Linked DNA regions of Homo sapiens: all the other regions are linked to region 3. Evidence: promoter capture Hi-C in 16 types of primary human blood cells and fetal thymus (Javierre and others, 2016). All regions are on one chromosome and are shown on one strand. The core of a region is centred on a gene start or on the middle of the fragment in contact, and the rest is flanking DNA. Distances in the headings are between cores, read along the strand shown. Region 1 overlaps LOC105370816 (a long non-coding RNA gene). Region 2 holds the start of MYO5C (myosin VC). Region 3 holds the start of MAPK6 (mitogen-activated protein kinase 6). Region 4 overlaps MYO5A (myosin VA). Region 5 overlaps DMXL2 (Dmx like 2).

Region 1 (5,706 bases), core at 1,185-3,684, 370 kb after region 3:
TTTTTAATGATCGCCATTCTAACTGGCATGAGATGGTATCTCATTGTGGTTTTGATTTGCATTTCTCTGATGACCAGTGATGATGAGCATTTTTCCATGTGTCTGTTGGCTGCATAAATGTCTTCTTTTGAGAAGTGTCTGTTCATACCCTTTGCCCACTTTTTGATGGGGTTGTTTGTTTTCTTCTTGTAAATTTGTTTAAGTTCTTTGTAGATTCTGGATATTAGCTCTTTGTCAGATGGTAGATTGCAAAAATTTTCTCCCATTCTGTAGGTTGCCTGTTCACTCTGAATACACATACATACTTCTTTATTAATTCATTTAATAACAAGCTATAGTACAAGGTCTAATAATTTCTGAATAGATCTATTCATAAATGATATTTTAAGATAATTACAATAATCATTATCTATAAAAAAGTGTGCAGAGGCTCACGCCTGTAATCCCAACACTTTGGGAGGCCGAAGCAGGCAGTTCCCTTAAGGTCAGGAGTTTGAGACCAGCCTGTCCAACATGGTAAAACCCCGTCTCTACTAAAAATACAAAAAAATTAGGCGGGCGTAGTGGCGGGCGCCTGTAATCCCAGCTATTCTGGAGGCTGAGGCATAAGAATCGCTTGAACCCAGGAGGCAGAGGTTGCAGTGAGCTGAGATCACGCCACTGCACTCCAGCCTGGGCGATAGAGCAAGACTCCATCTCAAAAAAAAAAAAAAAGTGATATTCATTGGTGACAAAGTCACAGGTACTGCTAAATACAATTGTGTTTTGTTGTCTATATTTATGACTGAAATGTTAAATTGCAGCTGATGCTTAGAGAAAATAGATGTATTTTTTTCCCCATCCAGCCATGTTCCAGCCAGCTGTCACACTATGTCATTCCTTTTTCAAACCCCTTAAATGGCTTTCTGTGTCACTTAAGTCAAAATCCTTACCCCAAGCAGATCTGGTCTGAAGTTCCCTTTCTGATTTCACTTCCTGCCATTTCCTACTAGTCTCACCCTCTCTCCCTGCCATCCAGCCACACTGGCTTCCTTCCAGTTCGTTGATCACAAGCCAACCACAGGCCTGACTCAGGGCCTTTACTCTTGCCATTATCTATTCCAGGGCGTTTTCCCCTTAGATAATGGTAGGGCTTGCTCCCTTATATCAGGGGTCAACAATCATTTTGCATAAAGAGCCAGATGGTAAATATTTTAGGCTTTGTGGGCCATATGGTCTCAAATCTGCTGTGATAATGCAAGAGCAGCCATGGAGAATAAGTAAATAAATGAGTGCGGATGTGTCCCAATAAAACTTTATTTTTGGATGCTGAAATTTGAATTGCATATAATTTTCCCATGTCAAAAAGTATTATTCTCTAAAAAATTTTTTTGTTAACTATTTTAAAAATATAAAAACCATTCTTAGCTCTCGAGCCACACAAAAACAGGTGTGCAGTCAAATTTGGCCCACTGTTCATAGTTTGCTGAACCCTGCCTTACATCGTTCAGGTCTTTGTTCAAATGTCATCTGTTTGGAGAGGTCTGCTTTGGCCACTTCCTCCCAAAAGCCCTTCCCTTCTCTTCTATTACTTTACCTGGCTTTATTTTTCTTCATTGAACTTCCTGGGCCCTAACATATTATATTTTTATTTGTTCATTTTCTGTATTCCTTCTAGAATATAAGTACCATGAGGCAGGGCCTTAGTCGTTTTCCTTGCTGCTATACCCCCATCAGCATGACAGTGCCCAGCACAAAGTAAATGCTCAAATACTTGTTGAATGAATGAATTAGTACTGGTCATCTCGCTGTGAATATACTTACCAGAATTATAAGTTTTCTTAAACTGTGGTGGCCAGAATTGAAAATTGTTTCCCAGTTACAGTCTGAATCAATGCAGAGTAGGATTTAAAAATGCTTATTTTAATGCAGTCATTTTTATAAACCTGTGTATTCAAATTGAAATTTTGGCAAACCAGATTACTCCAAAACTGTACTTGTGAGTGATGTTTTCTGAACCTATATCTAGTTCTCAATGTCTATATTGTTGGTTTGATTTTGTGCTTCAGTCTGCTTTAAATTCTTATAAATTTTGATTCTGTTAGCTTTCACATCAGCTATTCTGGCCATCTATAGATTTGACAATTATACTGTGTCTTCAGCCACACCTTTCAGACCAAGGCAGAGAGGAGGACTGACTCTTGTGACTCCTCCAGGTGGCCAGAACACCATTAATCCAGACATCTGGGATAAATCCTGCAGGTCACCCATTAGGCCAGGGTAATATCGAAGTCGTTCGTGCAAGAACTGGAAATGGAGGTACAGGGGGATTTCAGATAATTCAACTAAAACCCAAAAGCTGTGATATGCAAGCATATCCTTAAAAAGGGAAACGCCTAAGATTAATATTATCATGTCTAAATAAAATGGTGCTTTGTTGCAATGTCTATCACCCAAATTCATAAACTATATTCATACAATGGAGTACTGCTTAGCAGTAAAAAAAAAAACAAACAAACAAAATGCTGATACACGTAACAATGTAAATGAATTTCAAAAATATAGTGTAGAGTATAAGAAGCTAGACACAAAAGGATGCATAGTGTAAAATCCCCTGTATGTAAAGCTCAAGATCAGGTAAAACTAATCCCTGGTGGTAGAAACGAGAAAGCTATTGAGGTGGAGGTATTGGCCAGAAAGGGGGATGAGGAACTTTTCTGGAATGATTGATGGTTATACCAGTATATATATATTTATTTGTGAGAATTCTCCAAGCTGTTCACTAAAGATTTGTGTTTCTTTCTATATGTAAAATACATTTCAATATAGTATGACTTTTCAATAAAAAGTGGCTGGTTTTAGTCATTAGTTTCTTGTGGGCTTTGTAAGCATGAGGAAATTAAATTTCTGAGTTGGCCAGGCTGAAGTTAGAGTCTCATCAATGGTAAATTTGCCAAGGGATCTGCCGTTTTATAGAGGCCTGTGGGGGCCTTGGTCAGCATAATATTTTGGTGTGATAATCAGTAGGGATTTTGTCATATTTTTCACGGAAAGAAAATAAAAGATGTCTATGGCATTAGTTTTGCTGTTGAAAACTAGACTAAATAAATTTGACATGACTTGCTCTTGGTGAATCCTTGTTGGCTCCTGATAAATATATTTCTTTTTTAAATTGCCACAAATTGTGTTTTATTCTCCATTAAAGATTTTTCCAGGTTTACTAGTTTGTAGTTTTTGGTACCCACAACATTCTTTTTAGAAAATTAATACATTATTTGCCTGAATTAAACCTTCTGGCATTTCTTATTAAGAGGCAAGTTGGAGTCATAAAATGTATTTACTTTTTCATGGAATTGAAAGGAAACGTCCTAGGCAAGTTCATTAAGAATCCAAAGAAGATCTCTTCTTTTGAGGTAAGCAATCAAGAACAGTGATCAAGTAGTTTTGCTTCCCATTTAGATCTGGTTTGAATCTTAGCTCACAGATGTGTCACCTTAGGCAAGTTTCTTAACCTTTCCAAACCCCATTTTTTCTAATCTGTAAGAGGGATTGCTATGGCAATTACACAGGGAAATTTTTGTAAAGCACTTAACACAGCACCCGACACATAGTAGCTATCATCATCAACATTATCAGCAGTCTCATCCTCCTCATCTTCATTAACAGGAGCCAGCCCCTCTTGGATTGATTTTCCAGGGCAGTATTTTGTGAACCTCAGTAGAGTGCTCCATGGGCACTTGATTTTTTTCTGCCGACTGACTGACTGAGTTCAGAAGGATCAATTCACACATCAAATTCACAAGAAACTGCTTATTTATTCATTTGTAATGACAAAAGACAGCTGCATCAATATATTCTTTCCTTACACATATAATAGGGAAGCCAAATTATCTATGAAGGTGGTTTGATTAGTACAGGCTCATTGTTCCTTCCACTGGAAACACCCCTTTCCTCTTAGGCACCAAACTAGGTTACAGCTATAGACATGCCAATAGAATTGTGCTCACTGGAGATGACACACAGGCACCCATTTAGACCTTACTGCTGACTGTAAATGATCTTTGTGGGTAGATAATTAATCTTACCCATTACATGTTCATTTTTATCATTTCATTTTTGGAACCTCTATCTTGTGGGCTTTTGGGGGTACATCATTGTCTTTAATTGTTCATACTTCGTCTTTGACTAACTTCAACAATTTCTTCCTTAAAAACTAGCTCTGAAATACCATGCTTTATAGTTGGATAAGAAGGTAGTGAAAGGTGAGAAGTGGGGGGTTGAAGGATATAACTGTACTGTCTTTCTGTTCAAAATATCTTTCTGTGGCCGGGCATGGTGGCTCACGCCTCTAATCCCAGCACTTTGGGAGGCCAAGGCAGGTGGATCACCTGACATAAGGAGGTTGAGACCAGCCTGGCCAACGTGGTGAAACCCCCTCTCTACTAAAAATACAAAAATTAGCTGGTTTTGGTGGTGCATACCTGTAATGCCAACTATTCGGGAGGCTGAGGCAGGAGGATCACTTGAACTCAGGAGGCTGAGGTTGCAGTGAGCCAAGATCATGCCACTGCACGGTAACAGAGCAAGACTCCGTCTAAAAAAAAAAAAAAAAAAAGCCCAAAAAACAAAAACAAAAAAACCCAAAATGTCTTTGTGTATTTATATTATTTAAAAAATCATCAAAAATGTTCCAACTACATAGAGGTAATGTTAGAAAATAGGTAATAGCCGGGTGCAGTGGCTCACGCCTGTAATCCCAGCACTTTGGGAGACTGAGGCAGGTGGATCACCTGACATCAGGAGTTAGAGACCATCCTGACCAACATGGTGAAACCCCATCTCCACTAAAAATACAAAAATTAGCTGGGCATGGTGGAATGCACCCGTAATTCCAACTGCTGGGAAGGCTGAGGCAGGAGAATCACCTGAGCCCGGGAGGCAAAGGTTGCAGTCAGCCGAGATTACATCATTGCACTCCAGCCTGGGCAACAAGAGCAAGACTCTGTCTCAAAAAAAAAAAAAAAAGTAAATAGGTGATAATGGCTACTTTTTTTTTTTCTTTTTGACATGGAGTCTCGCTCTGTCGCCCAGGCTGGAGTGCAGTGACGCGATCTCAGCTCACTGCAAGCTCCATCTCCCAGGTTCACACTATTCTCCTGCCTCAGCCTCCCGAGTAGCTGGGACTACAGGTGCATTCCACTATGCCCAGCTAATTTTTGTATTTTTAGTAGAGACGGGGTTTCACCATGTTGGTCAGGCTGGTCTCGAACTCCTGACCTCAGGTGATCCACCTGCCTCGGTCTCCCAAAGTACTGGGATTACAGGCATGAGCCACCGCACCCGGCTATAATGGCTACTTTTATTGAGCAACCATTGTGTGCCAGATCCTAAGAATAGCCATATATTATTACATTTAGTCCTTACACTCAGAAATGTAGTTTTATTCTCATTATTCAGATGAAAACACTGAAGATCAGAGAAATAAACTGCCTAAGATTACACAGTGAGTAGCTGGCAGAAGCAGCGTCTGAACAGCCCTCTGATTCTACAGCCTGTGCCCTTTCCTCCACATTACATTCAGGAAACAAGTCCTGTCCTGTTTTTAAGATCATTGGTTCTTCAACATCTTAGTTTTGAATCACAGAAAAGTAGAGCATTAGGTAGACAGGATTTCATAAGAAAAACAATTTAATAAGATAAACAAATTATTGGACAAGATCATAGTAC
Region 2 (5,872 bases), core at 1,181-3,680, 280 kb before region 3:
GATATCGGTAATGTTCTACGTCTGGATCTGGGCGGTGGTTACTTTGGTGTGTTGATGTGTTCCATGAATAAGAATATATTGAGCTGTACACTTATTATTTGCACACTTTTCTGTATATAATTTTATTCTTCAATAAAAATTTTCTTTAAATAAAAAAGGCAGCTAGATTCTCTTTTTAACTCTGAGCAATCAGGCAGCTGTCACTACTCACCTTATAGATTTTCTTTTTCTTTATACAAAATAGAATTATTTGGGCAATAATATAAATAATTTTGTATATAAATAAATGCAAAATTAAATTTACCATGATCCTCTCTTTGTGGCATTTATCATTATTGATCCATGCCAGGCCTCTCTTTATATTTTTTGATCCCCTTTTTGAAATCTCCGATTCCATTTCTCTCCCTCATAGGTATCCACTCTTGCATATTTAATGAATGACTTTGTAATTTATCCTCCTTACCTCTATTCACACATACTTGTACCCATGAACAATATTCAGTATTGCAGTTTTTGTGAGTTTTTAAATATTAAAGACTTGGGCTAGACATCTATTCAACATTGTTTTTTATTTCTGAGTCAAGTAGATCATGTCTATTCCTACTAACAGCTGTAGAGTTTTACATGTATATACTATTTCTTTTTTTATTTTTCTCTGCTGTCTGCCATGTATATACTATTTTATTTATTCCCCTATTGATATTTAGATGCTTCCAACTCTTTGATAAATAACTATGTTGTGATGAACATCTACTTAACTGTCTCTTTGGGTGACTGTGAGAATTTTTCTGCCTACATTTATTTTCATAACTATTCTCAAATTGCTCTCCAGGATGGCAGTATATTCCCACCAGTTATGTAAGCAAAAAAAGTTTTTATTTTTTTTATTTATTTTTTTTTTTTTTTTGAGACGGAGTCTCGCTCTGTCGCCCAGGCTGGAGTGCAGTGGCGCAATCTCGGCTCACTGCAGGCTCCGCCCCCTGGGGTTCACGCCATTCTCCTGCCTCAGCCTCCCGAGTAGCTGGGACTACAGGCGCCCGCCACCTCGCCCGGCTAATTTTTTGTATTTTTAGTAGAGACGGGGTTTCACCGTGTTAGCCAGGATGGTCTCGATCTCCTGACCTCGTGATCCGCCCGCCTCGGCCTCCCAAAGTGCTGGGATTACAGGCGTGAGCCACCGCGCCCGGCCAAGTTTTTATTTTCTCACATCCTAGGCAGTATCTGAGATTGTCTAACCTAAATGTTTTTGCCAATATGATGGGTAAAAAGCAATATCTCATTGTTGTTTTCATTTGTATTTATCTGATTACTGCTAAAGTTGACATCTCCTTGTATGCTAACAAGCCATTTAAGTGTCCCCATCTGTGAATTGCCTATTAATTTTTGTCAGTTTTAAAAATTGGATTTCTTTTCTTTAACCGATTAACAATTCTTCTATATGGAAACTACTATAACCCAACATTTTAAAGATATTATCCCTCTTTTATTCCTAATAATTTCCCGGTTTTAAGTTTTAATCGTGAATCCATCTGGAGCTTATTTTTGGATGCAGTGTTTGCCACGGATCTGCTTTTATTGTTTTTCCATATAACGGGCCCATCTAATAAATATTATTTTATTTCCCTATCTGGTCCTTAAGGCTACCGTATAATGTAGGGCCCTGCTGGGGGGCTCCAGCATGTTCCATTACTCACGTATCCGTTCTCACGCAAGTGTCACACTGTTTTAATGACTACTGCTTTGTTATGTCCCTAAATATATGGCAGGACAAATCTCTCCTCTTTGAGAATTGTCTTAGTTATACAGGGCTTTTATTCTATATGAAATATAGAATCATTGTACAATTCTCCAAAAGTTCTGTAGGATTCTGACGCCAATATATTAGGCATATATATTGATTTGGGTAGAAGTGACACCTTGACCATATTAAATATTCCCAGCCAGGAAAATGGCATGTCTCCCGTTTACCTGGGCCTTCTTTTAAGCTCTTTAAGAGAATTTTAAACATTTTCTCCACAAAGGCCAAGGGCATTTTTGCGAGTGTAATCTCTGGATACTTTATATTTTCACTAATATTGTAAATATCTTGTATTGCATAGACAATGCTCATATAAAGGACCATTACTTATTTTTGTATTTGATTTTGAATACGATGACCTTGCTGGACTCTTAACACATTTCTTTGTGTTCAGTACGTTGATTCCCTTGGGTCTTCCATTTAAATGGTCGTATCCTCTGCTCTTTGAGGAGCTAACACTCGGGCCGGGCAGCCTCCGGATGCATCTGTTCCTGCCTGGCAGCGCGCCCCGGGCCCCAACCTTCTCCACCCGCGCTCCCGCCAGGTGCAGCCGCCCGGCCCCGGCCAATGGCAGCGCCGACTAGCCGGGCCAAGCTTGGAGGGACCAATCCCGCCGCTGCCCCCTCCCCTCGCCGCCAACTCGGGAACGGGAACAGGAGGCCGTTGGAAAACTTTGGGCAAGATGGCCCGGCGGTGATTTCCGCGGCGGTCTCTCCTGCGCCCGGCCTCTGCGGCGCAGGCCCAGCCCCCGAGCCTCGCACGTTCGGCAGCCCCGGCCTGGCCCCGGCCCCTCCTGCCCATGGCGGTGGCCGAGCTGTACACGCAGGTAGGAGGGTCCGCTGGGCTCCTGGGAGCGCTGTGGGGGAGCCGGCCCTGCTAACGCTGACTCGACCTGGCGCCCGGGCCACACCTGCCACACCTGCGCACCTGACACGGCAGGGCGGGCGGGCGCGCGCTGGGGGCCGCGGAGGCGCCGCGGAGGGGCCACGGGGACCGGGGACACGAGCGAGCGTCGCCCCTCCAGGGCCCCGGCGTGCTCCGTCCCTGCCCGCGGGTAAGCCCCCTCCTGGCTCCGCTGCGCCTGGGTGCCCTGTGGGTGGGAAGACCCTGTGGGAGGGGCCGCCCCCTCCGCCGCTCCGGCCTCGGGGCCTAGAATCCCCAGTGCCCAGGGGTCGCGCGTGCGTCCCCATCTCCCGGGACTGGAGCGCCTCGGTCCCTTCCTACCACACCACGGGTGGAATCAGAGTTGCCCATGCGGACGTAGGAAGCTGAGACGCCGGCCAGTCTCCTGGCCCCTCCTGGGACCCCCTTGAACGAGCTGGCATAGAAGCTTATGGCCGCAGTGTTCGGGCTGCTTTCTAGAATTCTGTGTCTTCAAAGTGCGTGAACGTGCATGTAGGCTCATCAGAAGCTGAAGCAGCCTGGGTCACAGGCTTGAGGGCACTGCAGTGGCACCAAGCGCTTGGGGAGCCCAGGGGCCACGAGGTGCAGTCGTAGGCTCTTTGCCTAACATCTGTACTGTTAGCAACAGTACAAACACCACAGTTTCTAAAGCGCCTTTCATATACCCTGACTCTGGGAAACACTAGAGCATTCCTCAGAAGCTTCCTTTCTGCTGGCTGGGGCTCCACCTCTTACCTCGGAAGGGCAGCGTTCCCACATATGTCCCAAACCCTCTGAGATGGGCTTGGGTAATTATTTGGATAAAGAGTGTGACAGTGTTAGCACTTTTGAAAAAAAAAATCCATTTGAATAGCCATAAAGCCTGATCCTCCTATACACCAGTTGGGGAAATCTAGAGACCTCAGTATTCAGACGAGTGGAACTAGAATCCATCCATTTCCCCGGACACATGCTCTAGCTTTCTACTTTAAAAGATGCTTTTGCTGTAGATAGAAAAGATAGTTATTTAAAAAATCATGTTTCAATGGTTTAAGCAAACGTTTTTCTTCTACTTTGATTACTTAGTAACAGTCCGGACACAAAGCAACCGAACTGTAGTTTCTCCTCTATTGCATCTCCATTAACTGGAGTTCTAAATGGACAGTGTTTGAATTGCCCTAGTTTTGTTCTAGAATATTTTCACCAGTGAGACTGTGAGCCCTCAGACAGCCAACAGCGCTTCTTCAGCCTTCAGTTTACTGGAAGTGAAAGAAAAGTCTTGGACTAGTCTTCGACGATACTTTGGAGGACAGAGAAAAATGCTGCTGCTGAACCTATTTGAGGTGACAGTATTTCCAGAAGCAGAAACACACAGGTGCAAGCACCCCTATTTTTAGGTGCCTCAAACCTCAGATATTTATTAAATGTCTAGTAAGTACCAGGCACAATGTAAGAAAACTGATAGGAAGGAGTTTAAAGGTACAAGCTTGGAGGGAATGAGAATCTGAGAATCCCAGAGACTGACGCAGCCTGATGGCCATTCCCACTGACCTTGTGTCCACGTAGACACCTGTGTTCCTAGGCTGCCACCTCCCTTCCTGGTGGGCAGTTAGCCCCCATTTTGTCTGTTCTGGAGGTGTGAAGGGGAGGGCCATGGCAGCCAGAGAGCGAGGTCAGGGCTTTATTCCCCAGTGTGGGTTTTGAGTGGGGGCTGGCAGAATCAAGGGTGGTGTGTTAGGACTGTTAGATTTGTTATGTATGCCAGCAGCGCCCTTGGGCTGTGGAGGAGAGAGGCCGGGGTCACGTAGCTGAATTCTCAGGTCATTCCAGCTGTTGGAAAAGAATTAGAGCTGCAGTGTTGGCCATGGAGGGTGGAGGCAGGTGAGGCTGAGAGGCTGGACTGGGGAGTGGGGTGGGGGTTGAAGGGACCAGCCAAGGATGACATTTGAGGTTAGAGTCTGTATGAGAGACAGCAGGGTGGTGCCCTTGAGTGAATTAAGGATGTGGCATGAGGAGGAAATATTTCTTAAGAAAGTCATCAGGCAAGTTCTGTATTTGCAGGGGTTGAAGGGGTGAGGGGGCTTCCAAGGGAAGGTGCCTTGCAGGGTGGGAGGTGTCAGAGGGAGGGGATGGGCCCTGCCGAGGGTCTTCTGCCCAGAGGTGGTCACTGAAGCCAACAAGACACTGAGGGTCTCACCAAGGTGGGAGAAGGCAGACAGAGAAGAGGGTGAGGGACAGGCCAGCGGGGAATGCATCTGTGCAAGGAGTGAGAGGAAGCAGAAGGGCTGAGATGGAGCCATCCAGAGGAGGAGCTAACAGGGGAGCTGGAAGCCACCCTGTGGGAACAGGGAAGAGGGAACTCCAGGAGAAGTCTTGGTGAGGGGAGCAATCGCTGCCAGGTGAGGTGTAAAATCATCCATCTCTTTTGAAAAGCTACAGGTGCCATGCCTTAGAAATGTTCAGAGCAGCAGTTCCCCTATTTGAAATCTCTCTTAAGAAGAGCCGGTCTGGCATTCTCTGCTCTACCACCTCTAGAGGCTCCCATTGCTTTCAGACTCACTGACCAGCCACGAGGTCCTGCCTCTCTCCCTGCCTTCCTGCTCTTACCTGGCTCATGCTCTGCCAGACTCCTTGCCATTCCCTCAATGCCTTGCTTGCACGTTGCCACTGCGTGCCTTGGCACACGAACTCCACCTGTCTGAGCCTCTGTCTGTCACCTTTGCTCATGGCACCTGCACCTTCCACCTTCAATTTGAGCAGGACCTCTTCTGAGAAAGCCTCTGCAGCTAGCCCCTCCACACGGTGCCTTCCATATTGCCTGGTAACAGCTCGTGAACTCTGTGTCTCCACTATTGACCAAGAGCTTTCAGTGAGCAGGGGACAGTGGGAGCTTCATAAATGTTTGATGTGCACCTGTGTGCATGACTGAACGTTTTTGCTTACAGAAATAGCTAGGACCATGGAGACGATGATATGGATGATGTTATTTTTATCTCTATGTGCTAGATGCCATCCTCAGAGTTTCATGTGCCGCCTCTCATTTAATCTGGATAAACAACTCTGTGTGTTAGATGATCTCACACTTTTAGAAATGGCTCAGGTCAGGTAAGTTGCTAAGGTAACATACAAGTGATGGAGCCGGAGTTGAAAACCTATGTTCTTAGTGTCTCTCACTACCACCACCTTGGTTCA
Region 3 (5,807 bases), core at 1,325-3,824:
TAATAATTCTGAGTGAAACTTTCATATTCAGAGCCATATCTGATTAAATATTAAATATAAAGATAACTTTCACATAACCAATAAAAACATAAGGTCAATTTCTACCGACACCATAAAAGTACTATCTGTCCTTTATAAACAACCTGTAACAAATCTCTCTCAGCAGTAGCCAAAAAACTGCTAGTATCAAACATTTAATTTCAGCACCTGACCAGAAATTGGTTTTACCTTTCCTCTCAGCAAATGTTACACAATTCCACCTGTAGGGTATATGATATCCTTTTAAAATGCAATTTAAGAAGCCATTACTTTTTTAGAGAAACTGCTGTTCCTCTTCAGAAAAAATGAGAGAGAATTTCAATGTGGACAGGAACATTTTAGCCTATCATTTAGAAAAAAATACAGTGTATTTAAAAAAAAAAAAAAAAAAAGCCACGTAGCAGTCCGTGGGCAGCATGAGTCATCATCCAACTCAAAACTTGCAGCAGCACTTGTAAGCTTCCTCCTACCCGACCCCCATCCCCTTCAGCAAAGTACCCTGAGTCAGCAAACCTTACTATTTTGTCAGTTATGATTCTCACGATGCTTTAAATGAATTTATGTAAAGCACTGCAACACTTTTAGTGCTAACATTAGTCTTTAGAATGTGTGCATTTTTTTATTACAAAATTAACTGACTTCAAATCACTCTTCTCTGGATTTTTTAATAACAGAAAGTAGCCAACGACTACTTCTAATCCTCTTTTGCAAATAAATGAATTCCAGAATATCCTCATATACGAAGTTTTTTCTAAAATAGTCTCCATTTTCCAGTGTTTTCTTCTCAACAGTAATACCTAGGTGATCAAATATGTTCTGCTCAAATCTGGCATATTTTCTAGATTAACTGCAATTACTGAATTCAGGACATCAATGAATAATTTTACAAGCTTAAGGCAATTCTTAATAAATGATGTAACATATGTGAAATGACTTTACAATCCCTGGCACATAGCAAACACTTCATAAACATGTTTGAACAACTACTATCTAAAGACAAAGTTCCTTTCACCCAATTCAAAATTATTTTTTAAACATTAAAATCTGATATTTCTATGAAGAAATTCCTGATTTCAGGGCCAGGCCCTGTTTGGACCCTACATTCTTCTGGTCAGATCATTCTTTCCATCTCAGTTTTCCAGCGTTAAAGAGGGAGGACATGTGCAATTGGAACTGTAAGAGACAGGCTAGAAGAATCAGCCATCAGAAAATTACTCTGAAGCTGCTTGCTCTTCATTGTATGGCGTGTTAATTTTTCCCCTTGACAAATCATCTGTATCCGTTAAAAAAAAAAAAGTCATTACTGAGACTGCATCTTTAGCAATGAACACGAATTCTGCCGTTAATACAAGTAGGCTTCTAATTCCAACTCACCAGTCCCTTTCACTGGACCTTTTCCAATGAACAAGCAAAAGAAAAAATAAAACAGGAAAGGAATCAAGAAGCTCCCGCTGCACAGAGATCCCCCTAACACCTAAACCGGTTGGGTCCTACACTCGCCAAGAAACAAAAGGATGCCAAAACACCTTTACTTTTCGACACAACTCACAAGGCGGACTAAAATGCACAGCAAAGTGACAAGGCCCTTTTTGGTGAACCGACAAAACAAGCTTTCATTTGGGCACTTTTACAGACCACCACTTAAGGTCCCGAAAGAAGCTAAGGAAAGACTGTAGGGCCGAGGGAGGAAATTAGGAATTTCGTCTCCGAGTTTTCAGTACCTCATTCATGGCAAGACTCAAAACTTGGGCGGACTTCAGGGCTCTGAGACGAGCCGGGTGAGCGCTGCGCGCTACGCCACTGGAGACTTTGCCCGGCCGGAGTCAGCTGAGGCCGAGTCACCGGGTGGGATGGGGGAGGAGACGCGGGAGCATTTCGAAAGGCAGCGTGCCAGTAAGGCGAGACTCCACGCCACCTCATGTTCCCCGGGCCGCCGCCCCTCGCTCGCCCGCCCTCCGGTCCGGTCCGGCTGGGTTTCGAACCCGCGGAGCCAGGCGCAGGCGGCGGGACGGCAGCAGGCGTGCGGGGCCAGGGAGCGGGCGCGGCCTGGCAGGGCGACCGGCGAGGGGCGTGCCGGGTGGGAGGGGCGCGCTGGCCGCCTGGCCGGCCCCACGCGGGGACCCCAGCCCGCCGCCCGCCCGCCCGCGCGGGGACGCGCCGGCCAGGCCCGAGCGGGCGGGCAGGCGGGCGAGCAGGGGGCGGGCGGCAGACCGAACAAAAACGCCTTTGTTGAGCGGCAGCCGCCGGAGGGTCACACACAATGGAGGAGGGAGCCGGCTCCGCCGTCGCCGCCGCCGCCGCCGCCGCCGGGCCCGCCGCGGCGCCCTCCCGAGCCGCCCCGCCGGCGCACCCCGCACACGTACACACACACACTCACGGGACTTCTCCGACTCATCGAGAGAGTGCGGGGCTCGCGGACTGCCCCCAGTGTCGGCTCAGGTCTCCGGCTGTGCTGGCGGCAGCGGCGTCTCCGAGGCTCTCGCTTTGCCGCAGTCGCCGCCATGTAACCCCGACCCGCGAGAGAGGGCGAGGAAGAGGGGGCGGGGCTTCGCGGTGCCACGCCCCCTCACGTCACAGGCTCACTCCACGGGTTCTCCCGCCCCCGCCCTGCCCAGCGCACCCGCACGCGCCGGAATTTCCAGCGCCCGTGACTGGGCTGCGCGCGCCGCGGAGGCGGTGGGAAAGGCACGCGGCTCGTCCGGCGTCTCCTGGGGGCTTTGCCTGCGGGCGGGCAGGGAGGAAGACAGCTGGGGCCGTTTGCTCTACTACCTGCCCTGGCATTAAGGGAACAAAGTGACCAAACCCAGTGCCAGCGTTTACTAAGCACCTACTACGTGCAAGGCACTGGGCAATCCGAGAGGAAGAGGCCTCAGTCTCCAGGAAGGGTGGACCTTAAGATGGATTGGCTGGAAGGCGACAGCCCGAGCACAAGACAGACGCGTTAGAGGCCAATACTAAGGTCATTCATTCTGCCAGAGTATGGAGGAAGGCTTTCAGGAGTGGTCGCCAAGGTGGCCTTTCAGCTGGATCCCGGAGGAGCGGATATAACCAGGAGGTGGGGAGGGTGTTTCTGTGAGCAAAGACTGGGAGGCCAGAGTACCTGGCTTGTTGCAGGAACTGGGATAGGACAATTTGAATTTGGGAAGGGATGCACTATGAAACGTAGAAAGGTGGATGGGTGCCTTCTTGGGCCCACTTGGCTAAAAGCAAACTTACATTACTTATCATGGCTTATTGAGTCCAAGGAGCCTTTTCAGTGTTTATGTGAAATTTAAGTATTTATGAAATTAGAGACGCAGGTCAGCATATTTTTTCAATGACTTCATCACCATCTTGCTGAGAACCAGACATAGAATAGCCCTTCTAGTCATTATTATGGGCATCTTCAAGAAAGAGGCAAAGACCACTTCAAAAAGATCACAAAGGGCCAGGCGTGGTGGTTCACGCCTGTAATCCTAGCACTTTGGGAGGCCGAGACGGGCAGATCACCTGAGGCCAGGAGTTCGAGACCAGCATGGCCAACATGGTGAAAGCCCCGTCTCCACTAAAAATACAAAAAGTAGCCGGGTGTGGTGGCTCACACCTGTAATCCCAGCTACTCGGGAGGCTGAGGCAGGAGAATAGCTTGAACCCCGCGGGGGGTTGCAGTGAGCCGAGATCGCGCCAGGACACTCCAGCCTGGGCGAAAGGGCGAAACTCTGTCTCAAAAAAAAAAATCACAGAGTAATGAAGTTAAGTGGTTGGGGTGAGCTTGAATGCTTTATATTTTTTAATATTTAAAACAACGTCAGCTGAGTACCAGGTGTGAAGAAGAGGTAATGAGTGAAAAAAACCAAGAGAAAGGGGAGACTTGTTCCAACCGCAGAATTTCCAGCTTCTGCAACGAGAGCTCGTACCTTCAGCCCCACTGCCTCTGCTCTAGGCTCTCCTCTGATCCTCAGGACATTTTTCCTCTCACTCTTTGAGAACTCGTTTACCTTCCTTTTCCATCAATGTCTGATCACCCAGAGAAGGTGGGAGAATAAATACCAAGCACTGTGCCTTCCCTCAAGGAGCATTTAATCCAGTGTCACTGCTGACTTCCTGTGGATAATGCAAAGTTGGCTTACAATAGTAAGGGAGACCACTAAATTGACAGAATCTTTGTAGCATTTCAAAAGGGTGTCAGGCCTCTGAGCCCAAGCTAAGCCATCGTATCCCCAGTGACCTGCACATATACATCCAGATGACCTGAAGCAACTGAAGATCCACAAAAAAAATGAAAATAGCCTTAACTGATGACATTCCATCATTGTGATTTATTTCTGCCCCAACCTAACTGATCAGTGTACTTTGTAATCTCCCCCACCCTTAAGAAGGTTCTTTATAATCTCCCCCATCCTTAAGAAGATTCCTTGTAACTCTCCCCACCCTTGAGAATGTACTTTGTGAGATCCACCCCCTGCCCCCAAACCATTGCTCTTAACTCCACTGCCTATCCCAAAACCTGTAAGAACTAATGATAATCCACCACCCTTTGCTGACTCCTTTTTCAGACTCAGCCCGCCTGCACCCAGGTGAAATAAACAGCCTTGTTTTTCACACAAAGCCTGTTTGGTGGTCTCTTCACACGGACACGTGAGACAAAGGGGAGGTCAAGGATGGAATAATTACAAGATTTGGGGGATCTGGTTTTTGTTTGTTTGTTTGTTTGTTTGTTTTTGAGACAGAGCCTCGGTCTGTCGCCAGGCTGGAGTGCAGAGTGGTGCAATCTTGGCTCACTGCAACCTCTGCTCACTGCAACCTCTGCTCAAGCGATTCCCCCGCCTCAGCCTCCCGAGTAGCTGGGACTACAGGTGCGCGCCAGCACACCCAGCTGATTTTTGTATTTTTAGTAGAGACGAGGTTTTACCATGTTGACCAGGATGGTCTCGATCTCCTGACCTGGTGATCCACCAGCCTTGCCCTCCGAAAGTGCTGGGATTACAGGCATGAGCCACCACACCTGGCCCAGGGATCTGGTTTAAGACTGGTTTTTCAGTGAGGGGTCCTGATTGGGTTTGGGACAAATTTGTGTTATAATAGTTTAAGGTGGGTGGGCAGAGGAGGGGGAGAGTTTTGAAGAGAGCCTAAAGGGATAAATAGTTGTTAAACTCAGTAGAACAGAGGGCTGTTTACCCTGATGAAGGCAAATTCTGTGAGTAACTTAATGAGATAAATGGATTTTAGGAAGTTCCTGAAACCACAATCAAGTTATTTGCAACTCCACCTTTTTAGGCAAGAGTTTCTTGGAATTCAAGTTATATTTATTGCAGATAGTTGAATTGTAAAGTCATGTCAATGTAGTTGGTTTTAGTTTTTTTGGTGTTTTTTTTTTCTTTTTTTGAGATGGAGTTTTGCTCTTGTCATCCAGGCTGGAGTGTAGTGGCACGATCTAGGCTCACTGCAACCTCCGCCTCCCGGGTTCAAGCAATTCTCCTGTGTCAGCCTCCTGAGTAGCTGGGATTACAGGTGTGCACCACATGCCCAGCTAATTTTAGTATTTTTAGTAGAGACGGGGTTTCACCATGTTGGGCAGGCTGGTCTCAAACTCCTGACCACCCGCCTTGGCCTCCCAAAGTGCTGGGATTACAGGAGTGAGCCACCATGCCCGGCCAGTTTTAGTTTGTGTGTGTGTGTGTGTGTGTGTGTGTGTGTGTGTGTGCGCGCGCGCGCGCGCGCGATGGAGTTTGGCTCTGTGGCCCAGGCTGGAGTGCAGTGGCAGGATCTCAGCTCACTGCAAGCTCTGC
Region 4 (5,923 bases), core at 2,314-4,813, 310 kb before region 3:
ACAGGGATCTAGCAGTGAACAAGGCTAAAGCCAAACTCCTTTTTTTTTTTTTTTTTTTTTTTTTGGAGACAGAGTCTTGCTCTGTCGCTGAGGCTGGAGTGCAGTGGTGCAATCTCGGCTCACTGCAACCTCTGCTTCCCGGGTTCAAGCAATTCTCCTGCCTCAGCCTCCTGAGTAGCTGGGATTACAGGTGCATGCCACCATGTCCAGCTAATTTTTGTATTTTTAGTAGAGACGGGGTTTCACCATGTTGGCCAGGCTGATCTCGAACTCCTGAGCTCGTGATCCATCTGCCTCAGCCTCCCAAAGTGCTGGGTATAGGCGTGAGCCACCGCTTCCAGCCTAAAGCCAAATTTTAAGCTTATTTCAATGTTCTCACTGCTTAAGGGATTTTGAGACAGTCTTTGGAATAGCCTTCAAACCTGTGTGAACGGTTAATCATTTTCTCTCATTGTCATTCTGCATCTAATTCTTGCTTGGTTCAAACAGTGAAGATTCCCCATCACTGAGGATGTTCAAAAGAATCTATCATGATTAACTCCAAGTGTGGTTTTCATTCCTCCAACATGCCAGGTCTTGTCATAACTGCTCCTTCTGTTTGGTCATCCTGCTTCTCCTGGTTAAGTCCTGCTCAGCCTTTGAGACCAGAGTCATATGTCACATCCTCAAGAGTAGCCTTTCCTGATTACCCAGACAGACGTTATGGTTCTGCTCTCTGTGTACCACAATTTGGCCGACATCTTTTATGGTCTTCACTATGTCATATTTTTAGCAATTTTTCTGTTTGAATTACTGGCTTCCATAATAGACTCTGAGCTTCCTGAGCATAGAAAACATCTCTGTTTCCCTTTGCTTTCACAGCACCTAGCATAGTGTCTGACCTATCTCATAATCATTCCATAAATGTTTGTTGAGTGAATGAGTAAGTTTCAGAAATATTTATAACATGGCAACATGGACATTTACTTTGTAAAGGATATTACTCTGTTGGATGTACAAATACTGAAATATTTGTTTAGAAATCAGAAAGATTATTTTATAGTCACACTTTATATATAATCCTTTAGCATTACATGAGTCATATATTACATTAAAATTTGAGCCTCCACATCACACACTCACACACACATGAGCTATAATGTCTATTAGCAGAACTTAAAAATCTTTATTCAGAGAACTTTTTGCACTTTGCACCAATTATATCATGAGATGATAATCAGACAGCAGAGTATTTGTTTGAAAAAAACAGATTTTAAGTGTATTAACATGTGAGATTCTTTTTTTGTTCAACTCCTAATGATTCCTTTGCCATACTTTAGTAAATTTTGATAAACAGAAAAGCCATTCATTATTTTACATAATTTTTATTAGTTTTCTTTGATATGTATATTTTTTAGTTGAAGAGATGGGTTAGACTATTTTAAGATATTACTAATCTTAAGCCATTGTCAATCAGAAATCAACCTCATCATTTAAACTATCCAGACAGCTGTAAAGCCATAAGTAGCATTTGAGAATAGCAATTCATAGATCAAACAAAAAAGGCATTATAATAGTTCTTAAGAAGAGTTACATTTTGAGTTAAGTGATACATATCTAGAGGATGAAATGAAATAGATTTATGTGACTTGGGCACTTGCTGAGTGCAGTGTACCTGCTTCTACCCCAAATAAAGAGAATCAAGGTGACACTTTTCATCCTCGTATCTGCCTGTTACACAGAAAATACAGGCACCTTCTAATAACTAAACGTTGTCTTATACTTTTCTTTAAATGTATTGCAACACACTTAAATCCTTTTGGTTTAAAATAGCACAACTCTTGCCTCCTCCTACAAGCTACATTTAATTAAGGAGGCTTTTTAAAAAGCCAACAGACTTTTAAAAAAAATGCTAGCATATATAATTTTTGGCAGAAACTATATAGCTAAATGGAGAGTGTTTCAAAATTTGATCTGCTTTGTGCTATATTTTCACCCATCTTAATTTTCATGGAATCAAGAAATTAAGACCTGAAAGGATTCTAGAAATCAATTAGTTATTTCATAAGAGGAAAAAACTAAGGCCTGTAAGTGACCCATGGTTGCAGCAGGTGAGATGGCAGGACTAGAACACATACCTTCTAAGGGCCACTGATTTCTCTCCTTTGTGTCAAATTTTCCCACAGAAATCTTCTACTTATTAGGAATTCATCTGATTGTCTCAAACTTGAGATCAAGATCTTCCTGGTGCCAAAAGTAAATTTTTTTAAAACTTTCCAATTTTCTTTCCTTTTTGAAGACAGAAAGGTTCCCTCAAGTTTATAAAGAATCTAGAAAATGAAACTAGAGTCTTTTTTCAGGTCTTCCTAGAAGAATGGATCATTGGGCTCCTCAGTCCCTTTGTGCTGCTATAACAAAGTACTTGAGACTGGGTGATTTATAAAGAACAGAAATTTATTTCTCACAGTTCTGAAGGGTCAAGACACTGGCAAGTTCAGAGGGTCTGGTTTCTGCTTCCGAGATGGCAGGTGCCTTGTTGCTGGATCCTCTGAAGGGGACGAACTCTGTGTTCTTACATGGCAGAAGGTGGAAGGGCAAAAGGCTTAGCTAGTTGCCTCTTTATTTATTTATTTATTGAGATGGAGTTTGGCTTTCATCACTCAGGCTGCAGTGCAGTGGCGTGATCTCGGCTCACTGCAACCTCTGCCTCCCAGGTTCAAGCGATTCTCCTGCCTCAGCCTCCCAAGTAGCTGGGATTACAGGCATGTACCACCATGCCCGGCTAATTTTTTGTATTTTTAGTAGAGATGGGGTTTCTCCATGTTGGTCAGGGTGGTCTTGAACTCCTGAACTCAGGTGATCTGCCTGCCTTGGCCTCCCAAAGTGCTCTGATTATAGGTGTGAGTCACTGTGCCCGGCCAACATTTTATTTTAATTAGTAGATAATATTGCAAAATCAATCAAGGTTATGTTGAACTGACATCTAAATTTCATTTGTGAGCTTTGCAAAGACTTAAGTCCCTAGGGAGAATTCAGAGGCAGAGAGAAAGTTTTTAGTGAGAGTATGGCACATTCTATCTGACATTTTTATACAGTACCAAAAATATCCTGGTTAGAGATTTTGCAAAAGGAAGGTGAAGCTTCCTTTTAAAACATAAACTTTCTTAGTAAAAATATCCATTGTATTTCACAAATTCTGAGATGCAGTGTTTCCCATTTCAACATCTCTGAAATTGGGGTGTATCTTACAATTGTTGATGGGTTATAGTTTAGTTGGCAATTTTTTTAGTGTTACATAAAATACTGTATTTCATAACCGATAGCATCATAGATTTGATAAATCAGTGGGTTTAAAATATGCTCTTTGGGTTACATGGAGTCCAAATATGTGCATTTATTGATAAACCTAGTATGTTGAACTTGTTTTCTCCCAGTTTCCCCTTTTGGAATTGTACATGCGGCTTAAAAGTTACTAGTGGCATAGATGGCAGGGGTTTTATAATTTTGTTTTTTACATGCAGCTGCAGGTTTATGATCTGTAGAGGCCACTGTGTGCTGCTTCAGAGGTCCTTGTGGTGTTGTGTTTAAACTGACACCAGAAATTATGTAAAACCAAACAGTTTGAGTCTCCTTTTCTCTTGCATGGAAGAATATACTTTAGAGTTAGTCCCGTGGCTTTCATACTGGATCATGCATATGAAAAACTAGATTATGGGAGATGGCCGTAGCCCTGATCTGTCCAATCACAATCTGACCACTCTTTAGATATCATAGTGTTGCTGGATGGTGGTGACTTCACCTAAACCAGATTTTCAGCGCTGATAGTCCCAGTGTGTGCTGCTGCAGCATGAGGTGGACGGTGTGTCACCAGGCTCCATGCCACATAAGCAAGAGCACTGGCAGGTACTGATGTTCTCTGTGATAACCTCTTCCTGTGGGACTGGCTTCTCAGAACTAACCCAGGAAATTACCCAGAGTGACACAAGAAGCACTACTGACACCTCGTGGAGTCAGCAATATTAAGCTTTCTAATGTTTTTGCATCTGATCTGCATTTTGTTTGACAGCAATCTCAGAACTCAAACTTAATCTGCCCTTAAACAAATCTCTTAACCACTCTCCCTCCCTGTAGATAAAAGGATAAAAAACCTGGTTACTAGCGTGTATCTCCACAGTGGCTGTGGTAACTCATATGTCCCTTTACTTTTTGTTGGATTTCCCACTCAAGTCTCAATTTTGAGATGAAATTGGAGACTTTTTTTTTTAACCTTTAGCATAATTCTCTAGCTGCTGCCCTTGACAATAGTGACTATTTTTAACATCTGAAAGCATTGTAAACCAGTGGTTGTACTTCATTGATTGCAACTTTATAAGTAGAATTTTTAACATTATATTAAAAAGAAATAAAAAATAATAACATTTAGGAAATCATACTACATAGAGATAGTTTATCTGTTCATGATTTCTCTGGGAATGAGGATGGCAGGAGAAAATTAGGTCTTTGCCATATGAGGCCTTTGTGAAAAATAATACATTTTGGACCAAGTGGTATGAAGAAACACTCTTCTACCAGCTATCTGTATGTGTTTTGAATTGATTGTAATGATACATTTAAAGTAAATGTTCTTTTGCTTTTAATGGCTAAAGTCATTGAGCCAAGAGCAAGGGGGAATTGTTTCTGCTCCTTCTGCCCCTTTGTAGGATATTGATTGTTCCTCCTGTGAATTAAAGTCAAAATATGTTTAACCATTTCTGATTAGTATCAATTAATTAACAAATCTGTTAAACCACTTACTTTTTGGACATTTAATCTTATTAAAAAGTAAGCCTTATTACATAAAAAAAAGTTTTGAGTCATGTAAGGTTATTTGATGTTAATTTACAGTTAGGCAGGAGTGGCTTTCAGAGTAAGATGACCATATAATTTTGCCATCTGTTCACCCAATTTTAACAGAAAAAAATTATTTTAAGAGAAGGCAATTAAGTGGCAAATATGGCAAGTTTCGGTTGTTGTAGAATGCATTCAAAATTATAGGAACTTGGAGACCTCTCATGTTTTTTATATGGAAAACATTTTCTCCTCCTTTCTTACTTCTCATAAAGTGGGCCAGATGGAGAACATATCCCCAGGACAGATCATTGATGAACCCATCCGACCAGTCAACATTCCCAGGAAAGAAAAGGATTTCCAAGGGATGCTGGAATACAAGAAGGAGGATGAGCAAAAACTTGTTAAGAACCTGATTCTGGGCAAGTATTTTCTGCATTGGATAAAAGTTCCTTCTGGCACATGGGTTAATGGTGGGAAAAACTAGTCACTAATTTTTGAGATATTCAGCGTAGGTTTCATTAGTCATCATCAGATACCATGTATTCTAGTGCTGCAGTAGTGTTCTGACCACACCAAGCACTTTCAGTCCAACTGCAGGGACACATGCCTCAGACCCACCTACAAGGATTGCTCAAGATCAGGTCTTCTCAGCCCTGGCTGCACATTAGAATCACCTGGAAGCTTTGAACCATACTGATGTATCTCTCTCCCTCTTGCCCAGTTAAATCAAAATCTCTAGAGAGAAGAGCCTGGCAATGTCTAGTACTTTAAAAAAAAAAAAAAGAAAAAGAAAAAACCCTCAAGGCCAGCCTCGGGAAAATAGCAAGACCGCATCTCTCCAAAAAAAAAAAAAAAAAAAAAAAAAATTACCCAGGCGAGGTGGTACATGCCTGTAGTCCTAGCTGCTCAAAAGGCTGAGATGGGAGGATCATGTAAGCCCAGGAGTTCAAGACTACAGTGAGCTGTGATTATACCACTGCACTCCACCCTGGGCTACACAGCAAGAGTCTTTCTCAAAAATAATAAAAAGCTTCTTAAGGGATTCTCAAGTGTAACCACAGTTGAGCACAACTGCTCTAGGCCGTTTAGGTTCCTGAATTTCAGTTTTTCCTTA
Region 5 (5,511 bases), core at 1,470-3,969, 400 kb after region 3:
AGCAAACGGGCCTGAGGTGACTGGACTAGAAGGCTCCTCCTAGGGCGGCCCTTCGGTCTGCGGTGGAGGAAAGTGGTGGTGCGGCTGAAACCCCAGAGCGTCCGTTTCGCAGCTGCTCTCGGCGTGGAGGCGAAGAGACTTGGTGTTGGTCTCGGAGCGTGGAGGTGAAGAGACTTGGTGTTGGTCTCGGAGCGTGGAGGCGATGCTGCGCCTTGGCTCCCCCTGCCCGCTGTGCTAGGGCAGCGAGGAGCTGCTGGAGTCTGTGGCTTTAAGCCTGACTCTGTATCTCCTGATAATGCAGGATCTTAATTCCAACAAAAAGATAGAAAAATTCATCCTCCGCGCCCGAAAGATTTAGAATGGAAAGGTTAGAGTCACAGTGGCTTGGAGAGCTGTCTCATTTATCAGGAGGTCGTAGTTTGGTAATCCTCCTAGATAATATTTTAATCTGTAAGGTAGCCTTTTTTTTAATATAGTAAGGCAATGTGAAAAATTTACAACAGTGCTTGTTTGAGAAAAGTGTATGTATACATAACGTTTTAGAATCTCCTTAAAAGCTAGATGAAGTAGACATGTTTCTCAAGGAGATTGGACTCATCAGTCCTTTTTGAGAGTGGAAATGTTTAAACCAAGCCTTGGAGCTTCGTTTACTCATAGATAGACTCCCATAAATTGAGTTCTTTTTTAAAGAATGAAATTTATACATGGTCTTCCTTATAAGGAACTGTAGGCAGCCAGACCTTTATTAAATATATTTTGTAAACTGTTCTTCTTGATAAAACTGGAAATTCCGTAATGGTATGCTTTTTAGACAAGGAAAACCCTTTGATGTCTGCTTTCCAACAGTGTTTTTAAAACTGCGGAAAATAAAGCTTCAGCAAAACTGCAGAATCATTATGTAGCAGTGCATTCTGGAACAGAATTTATTTTTTGACGTTTTGTGATACATTAACCCCAGAAGATTGCTTTTTAGCCATTTTAATTTTTTAGTGTAATCCACTTGGCCTAGCTCCAGTTTAGAACGACCCCTTTTGTCATCTGTGTTTTATGTACATGTGACTTAAAATATTCATATAGAGCTGAGCTTTGTCTTCAAGTGTGTGGAGAATCTTGGTTTTTGGGGATAGAGAGAAGAAATTTCCCTGTTCCCCAGTAGTGCAGATAGGAAGTTCCTCAGGGTTAGAAGAGTGGGCCTCTTTCATCAAGAAACAAAGCTGGAATCTTTGGTTATATTTTCCTGCTAGAATGGTGGTGGTAGTTTTCTGCTTCCATCTAAAGTGGAGTGCTGTCTCACGGCAGGTCTGGTATGTAGAACTAAATAAACGGGTTCAGATGCAGCCTGGAAAAGCCTGTGTAAGAACTGTTAGTGCTGTGCAGGTGTGGTTATGCTGTAGGCCACTTGTGACCAGATGCTTAGAGTCATTTTCAAATCTTCTTGCACTTCCCTAATTCAGCGTTTCACGAAGTCTAGTTGACTCTGCACTGTCTACCAGATTTACTCCTTTTCATATCCTTAACCACCACCTTATTTTACAATCTTATTGGTATTAATATAAAAGCTTTCAAAACTGTCATGTCCGATAACTTCTTCATCCTCCACACCGCTGCTAGGATAATTTTCTTCAAGTGTCATTTTACTATATTACTCTTGGCTTAAGAATATGTAATTGTTTTTAATAGCTGTGTTAGGAAATGTAAACTTGTCAAGTATTCTCCATCTTTGACTTTATTTTTAATTATATGTACTCCTCACTTTGGCCCCTCTGTTACATACTGATCTTCTTACTCTAAACTGCATTTTTATGTTGCAACAAGACAGTCCTTTTGGGTTTCCAAATTCGACTCAAAATTTACGTGGTTTAGGATGCCTGCCTGTGACACTGTTATTTTGGTCTTTTGACAAATGTAAATACAAACCCATTTTGCACACCATCTCATTTAACTACCTTAGTTTTGAGCGCACTGATCCAGTTTTAATTTTGCCATGAACTAGAAATGATCTCTTGGGCTTTGTGAAAAACAGATTGAAAAACAAAACAAAACAAAACAAAAAACAAGCTGCTTTCAAGCAGTCTATATATAATCAACTAACAAATACTTAAGTTCCTATGTTTGTAAATATAGGAATAATAAATAGTAATAATAGTAAAATAAAATAAAGTAATATAATAGTAAAAATAAAAAGCAAGCTCCTCTTCATGGAGCCTGTCACTTGATTTTAGAGCAATCAGATGAAGAAACTTTAGTTCTGGATCAGATGATTAAAAGGGGGACCAGCCAGGACTTGGAATGAAGGTCTTGTGACTTCTCATTGTGTGGGCTTTTCTTGGTAGTATTTCCTTCTTAATATCAGAGTGCCTGCTCTGGAGAGGGTGTGTGGGTGCGTAGGTGGGTTAGTGGATGGATGGAAGGCCTCCCAGACATAGTGTAGAAGGAACTACTGTCTTGCAACTAACTCATGATTCTTAGCTGATGTTGTGTTTCATGGTAGCCTGAGAACCTTTTCAAAATACAATACATACTTTATTTCAGAGTCTAAAATTGATACATCTTTGAAGAACAGAATTGTTCTAAAAGGATTTTGAGTTTATGACAGTGTAATAATTGAAAGAAATGTGTGTTATATATTTTGCTGTGCATGGTGGGTGGCGTGATTGGTTGGCTGTGAATGACTACTTGATGTCGTGATGTCCCAATTTGTGCAATATTGACATGGTACTGCAGTCTGTAGTGGACAATCTCAGCTGATGTCTGTGGTTTTAGTGGTATCACGTAAGCTATGATGCTTTTCACTTGTGTTTAGGCAGTATACAGCTGTTTCCTTAAACATTCGATTGTGATTTCGTAAATGTAGCTGTAGATATCACATTTTAAAACATCACCTTTTGAACAATTTTGTTCTTTTCAGTGTAAGATCTAGGTTTTCGAAATGTTATCCTGCAATAAGTCAAATCTCTGGTAGTTCAAAGAGATGATCTTCTCCCGTGTATGAGCTTTATTATACTTTATTTTGCCTTTAAGACATTTCTTACTACCCTTCAGTGAATGTTTTGAGGGTTTATGCAACAGATATTGTAAATTTCTCATTATTTATGTTATTACTTTTCTGAAAGATAGTCCTTGGCTATTTTTTAAACTTTACTGCACATATTAAAATATTAATTGAAATAATGATCATACGTGATGATTTTTTAAATTAAAAATTCATTTGGCCTTAAGGCTTGCAGACTATTTTGAGATGTATAGGGGCAGTTACTATTATTCCAGTGTGACATGATTTCAACACATTGATCAAAGTTTACAAAAATTAGTAAGTCATTTGCACTCTTAGGGAATTTATAATATACTGGCAGAGATTAAAATGATTTATATAATTATAACATAAGGCAGATGGAAGAGATTGTAGTTGGGAAAACAAGAAGAGGTTTTATGGAAGAGTAAGGTTTGGAAAGATAAGAACAACAGAAGCAAAGGAATGGCATAATACGAAGGATAAATTATTGAGTGACTGTTTTCTTTGCAAAAGTTACTTTTTAATCACAGGACTTCTTCATTAAATAACAGACACTCTTAGAATGTTGAAAAAATATAATATGCAAACATTACCTGTAGCTTTTCAGGAAAACGTACCTGGTATTCTGACATTCAATTTTTTTTTTAAATTAAAATACCAACAAAAGGTTGGAAATAAATGGAAAACCATTCATTTAAAAATTAGAAAATAATGTTGTATAACCTCTTTTATGGCATTTAGATATGTCTTAACTCTATTGTAGAATAAAATTTCAGTCCTAGAGTTATGGTAACACCAAACCTTGAAAATGATCAACCAGTTTATACATTTAGCAAATGTTGAACACATAGGTGTGCTAAGCTTTGTGGGTATTAAAAAAAAAAAAAAAGAATTACAAGACATAGTCTTGATTTCAGGGAGTTTATTGAAGAAGTGTAGGAACCTGGTAGTCTAATACGAGAGTAAAAGACACATACCTAACCACAGTAGGCCAGCTGTGCAATATTACCAGCATTTAAGTGGGAATTCAGGAAGACTAAGAGAACTTTTGGCCAGGGGAATCAAGGGGTTGGTTAGAAACATGCTTCTGTACTGGCTGGTTATTAATGTGTTAACCTGTGCTGAGAGGAAAGTGAAAGACAGAAGTCAAGAATTTAGAATGGACTTGTTTTCTAAGAGAAATTGGCCTTTTTGTTCTTGGAGTGTAGCTTCTTGTTTGTTTAAACGGATACATTTAAAACCTTGTGGGCTTGGGCTTAGTGTCAACCAGTAAGTGAATATAGGGTTTATAAGTTCTTATGTCCCTGCGTAGATTGTTAATTAGCCTTCTTGCTTGTAGCAAGAAGACTCCTAGCAACTACTCAGAAACTCTGGTAAGGTTCTGAATAATGTCTTCCCCAAAAATGGGAGGTCAGAGACCAACTACTTGTATGGTGTTGGTGAAATCACTTAAACATGTTTAGGTCTTTGATCTGTAAAAGAAGTTCTTAAAGATATTCTTTAAGTATTTAGACCACGAATGAAAATTATATGGACTTCTCTAGAGATTTTCAGGGGTCAAAAGAGAAAATGGACTAGAAACATAAAGTGGTTGTGTTGAAGTTGTAGGTCTGGAGTCTTTATCGTATATTGCTTCTCACTTGTATTTACAAGACTTGATCAGATCTCACTTGTATTTACAAGATTTGATCAGACCTCACAGTCGGGGAGTCTGACCTCCTTTCTGGCTCAGTAGATAGGCCATTCAGAGCATTTATGAAGTAGTGGGTCTAGGAATGAGTCTTTGGGCTTACAGCTGAGGAGAAGCCTCTTGATTAGGTTTTGGTCCTTGGCACCTGGCAGATGATAGTTGCCTGCGACTGTCATAGTACAGTATTGGGTGGGAGATGGGACCAGTGTGATGGTGTTTAGGTTCTCCTTTCGCAGCTTTCCTTTTCCCGTGCAATGCCTTTATTTTAGTTTCTGTTCTTAGGATTTGGGCTATTTAAAATATTACTTTAGAAATTATAATCAGATTATCTTAACTTGGATCTTGGTAAATTTTTAGAACAAATCAGAGTCTCAGTATTTAATTATCTGAAAGAGCACAGGATGTTGGGTGACAACCATAATGGCACAGTAGAAAAACAAGTCATGCCTGACCAATTTAATTTCCTTCTGTGAAACCAAGGCAGTACTTAAAATGGGATATAATATAGAATATCTAAAATTCAGATTTAGTCAGACTTCTCTAGCTTGTCAGTTTTTTTTTTTTTTTTTTTTTTTTTAGATGGAGTCTCACTCTGTCACCCAGGCTGGAGTGCAGTGGTGCAACCTCTGCTCACCACAACCTCCATCTCCTAGGTTCAAGCGATTCTCCTGCCTCAGCCTCCTGAGTAGCTGGAATTACAGGTGCGTGCCACCATGCCAGGCTAATTTTTGTATTTTTAGTAGAGACAGGATTTCACGATGTTGGCCAGGCTGGCTTGAACTCTTGACCTCAAGTGATCCTCCTGCCT

What was found. Contacts are between HindIII fragments. The CHiCAGO score rates a contact against its expected background, and 5 or more counts as called.
Region 1: a fragment that was not itself captured here is called in contact with the fragment with the promoter of MAPK6 in region 3 in 1 of 17 cell types (erythroblasts); the score reaches 5.3 in erythroblasts.
Region 2: a contact is called between the fragment with the promoter of MYO5C here and the fragment with the promoter of MAPK6 in region 3, in 2 of 17 cell types (total B cells and naive B cells). The highest score is 7.1, in total B cells.
Region 4: a contact is called between a fragment that was not itself captured here and the fragment with the promoter of MAPK6 in region 3, in 1 of 17 cell types (naive CD4 T cells). The highest score is 5.6, in naive CD4 T cells.
Region 5: a fragment that was not itself captured here is called in contact with the fragment with the promoter of MAPK6 in region 3 in 1 of 17 cell types (monocytes); the score reaches 6.9 in monocytes.

The regions. Positions count from the first base shown.
Region 1 is chr15:51,642,736-51,648,441 of GRCh38, reverse strand. The region is part of intron 2 of LOC105370816 (a long non-coding RNA gene); the gene reads left to right. Among named protein-coding and RNA genes, the nearest start is that of DMXL2, 23 kb to the right of the region's middle. The HindIII fragment of the contact is 8,710 bases long and covers 1-5,706 here.
Region 2 is chr15:52,292,362-52,298,233 of GRCh38, reverse strand. MYO5C (myosin VC) reads left to right here and starts at 2,430. Exons shown (of 41, transcript NM_018728.4): 1 at 2,430-2,624. The coding sequence starts at 2,598. LOC105370819 (a long non-coding RNA gene) reads right to left here and starts at 3,350. Exons shown (of 4, transcript XR_932250.3): 1 at 3,023-3,350. RefSeq lists a silencer at 2,607-2,766 and enhancers at 4,208-4,377, 5,251-5,300. The HindIII fragment of the contact is 736 bases long and covers 2,395-3,130 here.
Region 3 is chr15:52,015,986-52,021,792 of GRCh38, reverse strand. MAPK6 (mitogen-activated protein kinase 6) reads right to left here and starts at 2,574. Exons shown (of 6, transcript NM_002748.4): 1 at 2,417-2,574. MAPK6-DT (MAPK6 divergent transcript) reads left to right here and starts at 2,698. Exons shown (of 2, transcript NR_156732.1): 1 at 2,698-3,094. RefSeq lists enhancers at 1,514-1,563, 2,904-2,973 and silencers at 1,814-2,323, 2,624-2,733. The HindIII fragment of the contact is 8,244 bases long and covers 1,652-5,807 here.
Region 4 is chr15:52,329,658-52,335,580 of GRCh38, reverse strand. It overlaps MYO5A (myosin VA), which reads left to right. Exons shown (of 42, transcript NM_001382347.1): 35 at 5,082-5,228. Among named protein-coding and RNA genes, the nearest start is that of MYO5C, 37 kb to the right of the region's middle. RefSeq lists an enhancer at 3,704-3,833. The HindIII fragment of the contact is 884 bases long and covers 3,122-4,005 here.
Region 5 is chr15:51,616,705-51,622,215 of GRCh38, reverse strand. All of the region lies in intron 1 of DMXL2 (Dmx like 2), which reads left to right. Among named protein-coding and RNA genes, the nearest start is that of DMXL2, 3.3 kb to the left of the region's middle. RefSeq lists an enhancer at 1-307. The HindIII fragment of the contact is 2,315 bases long and covers 1,562-3,876 here.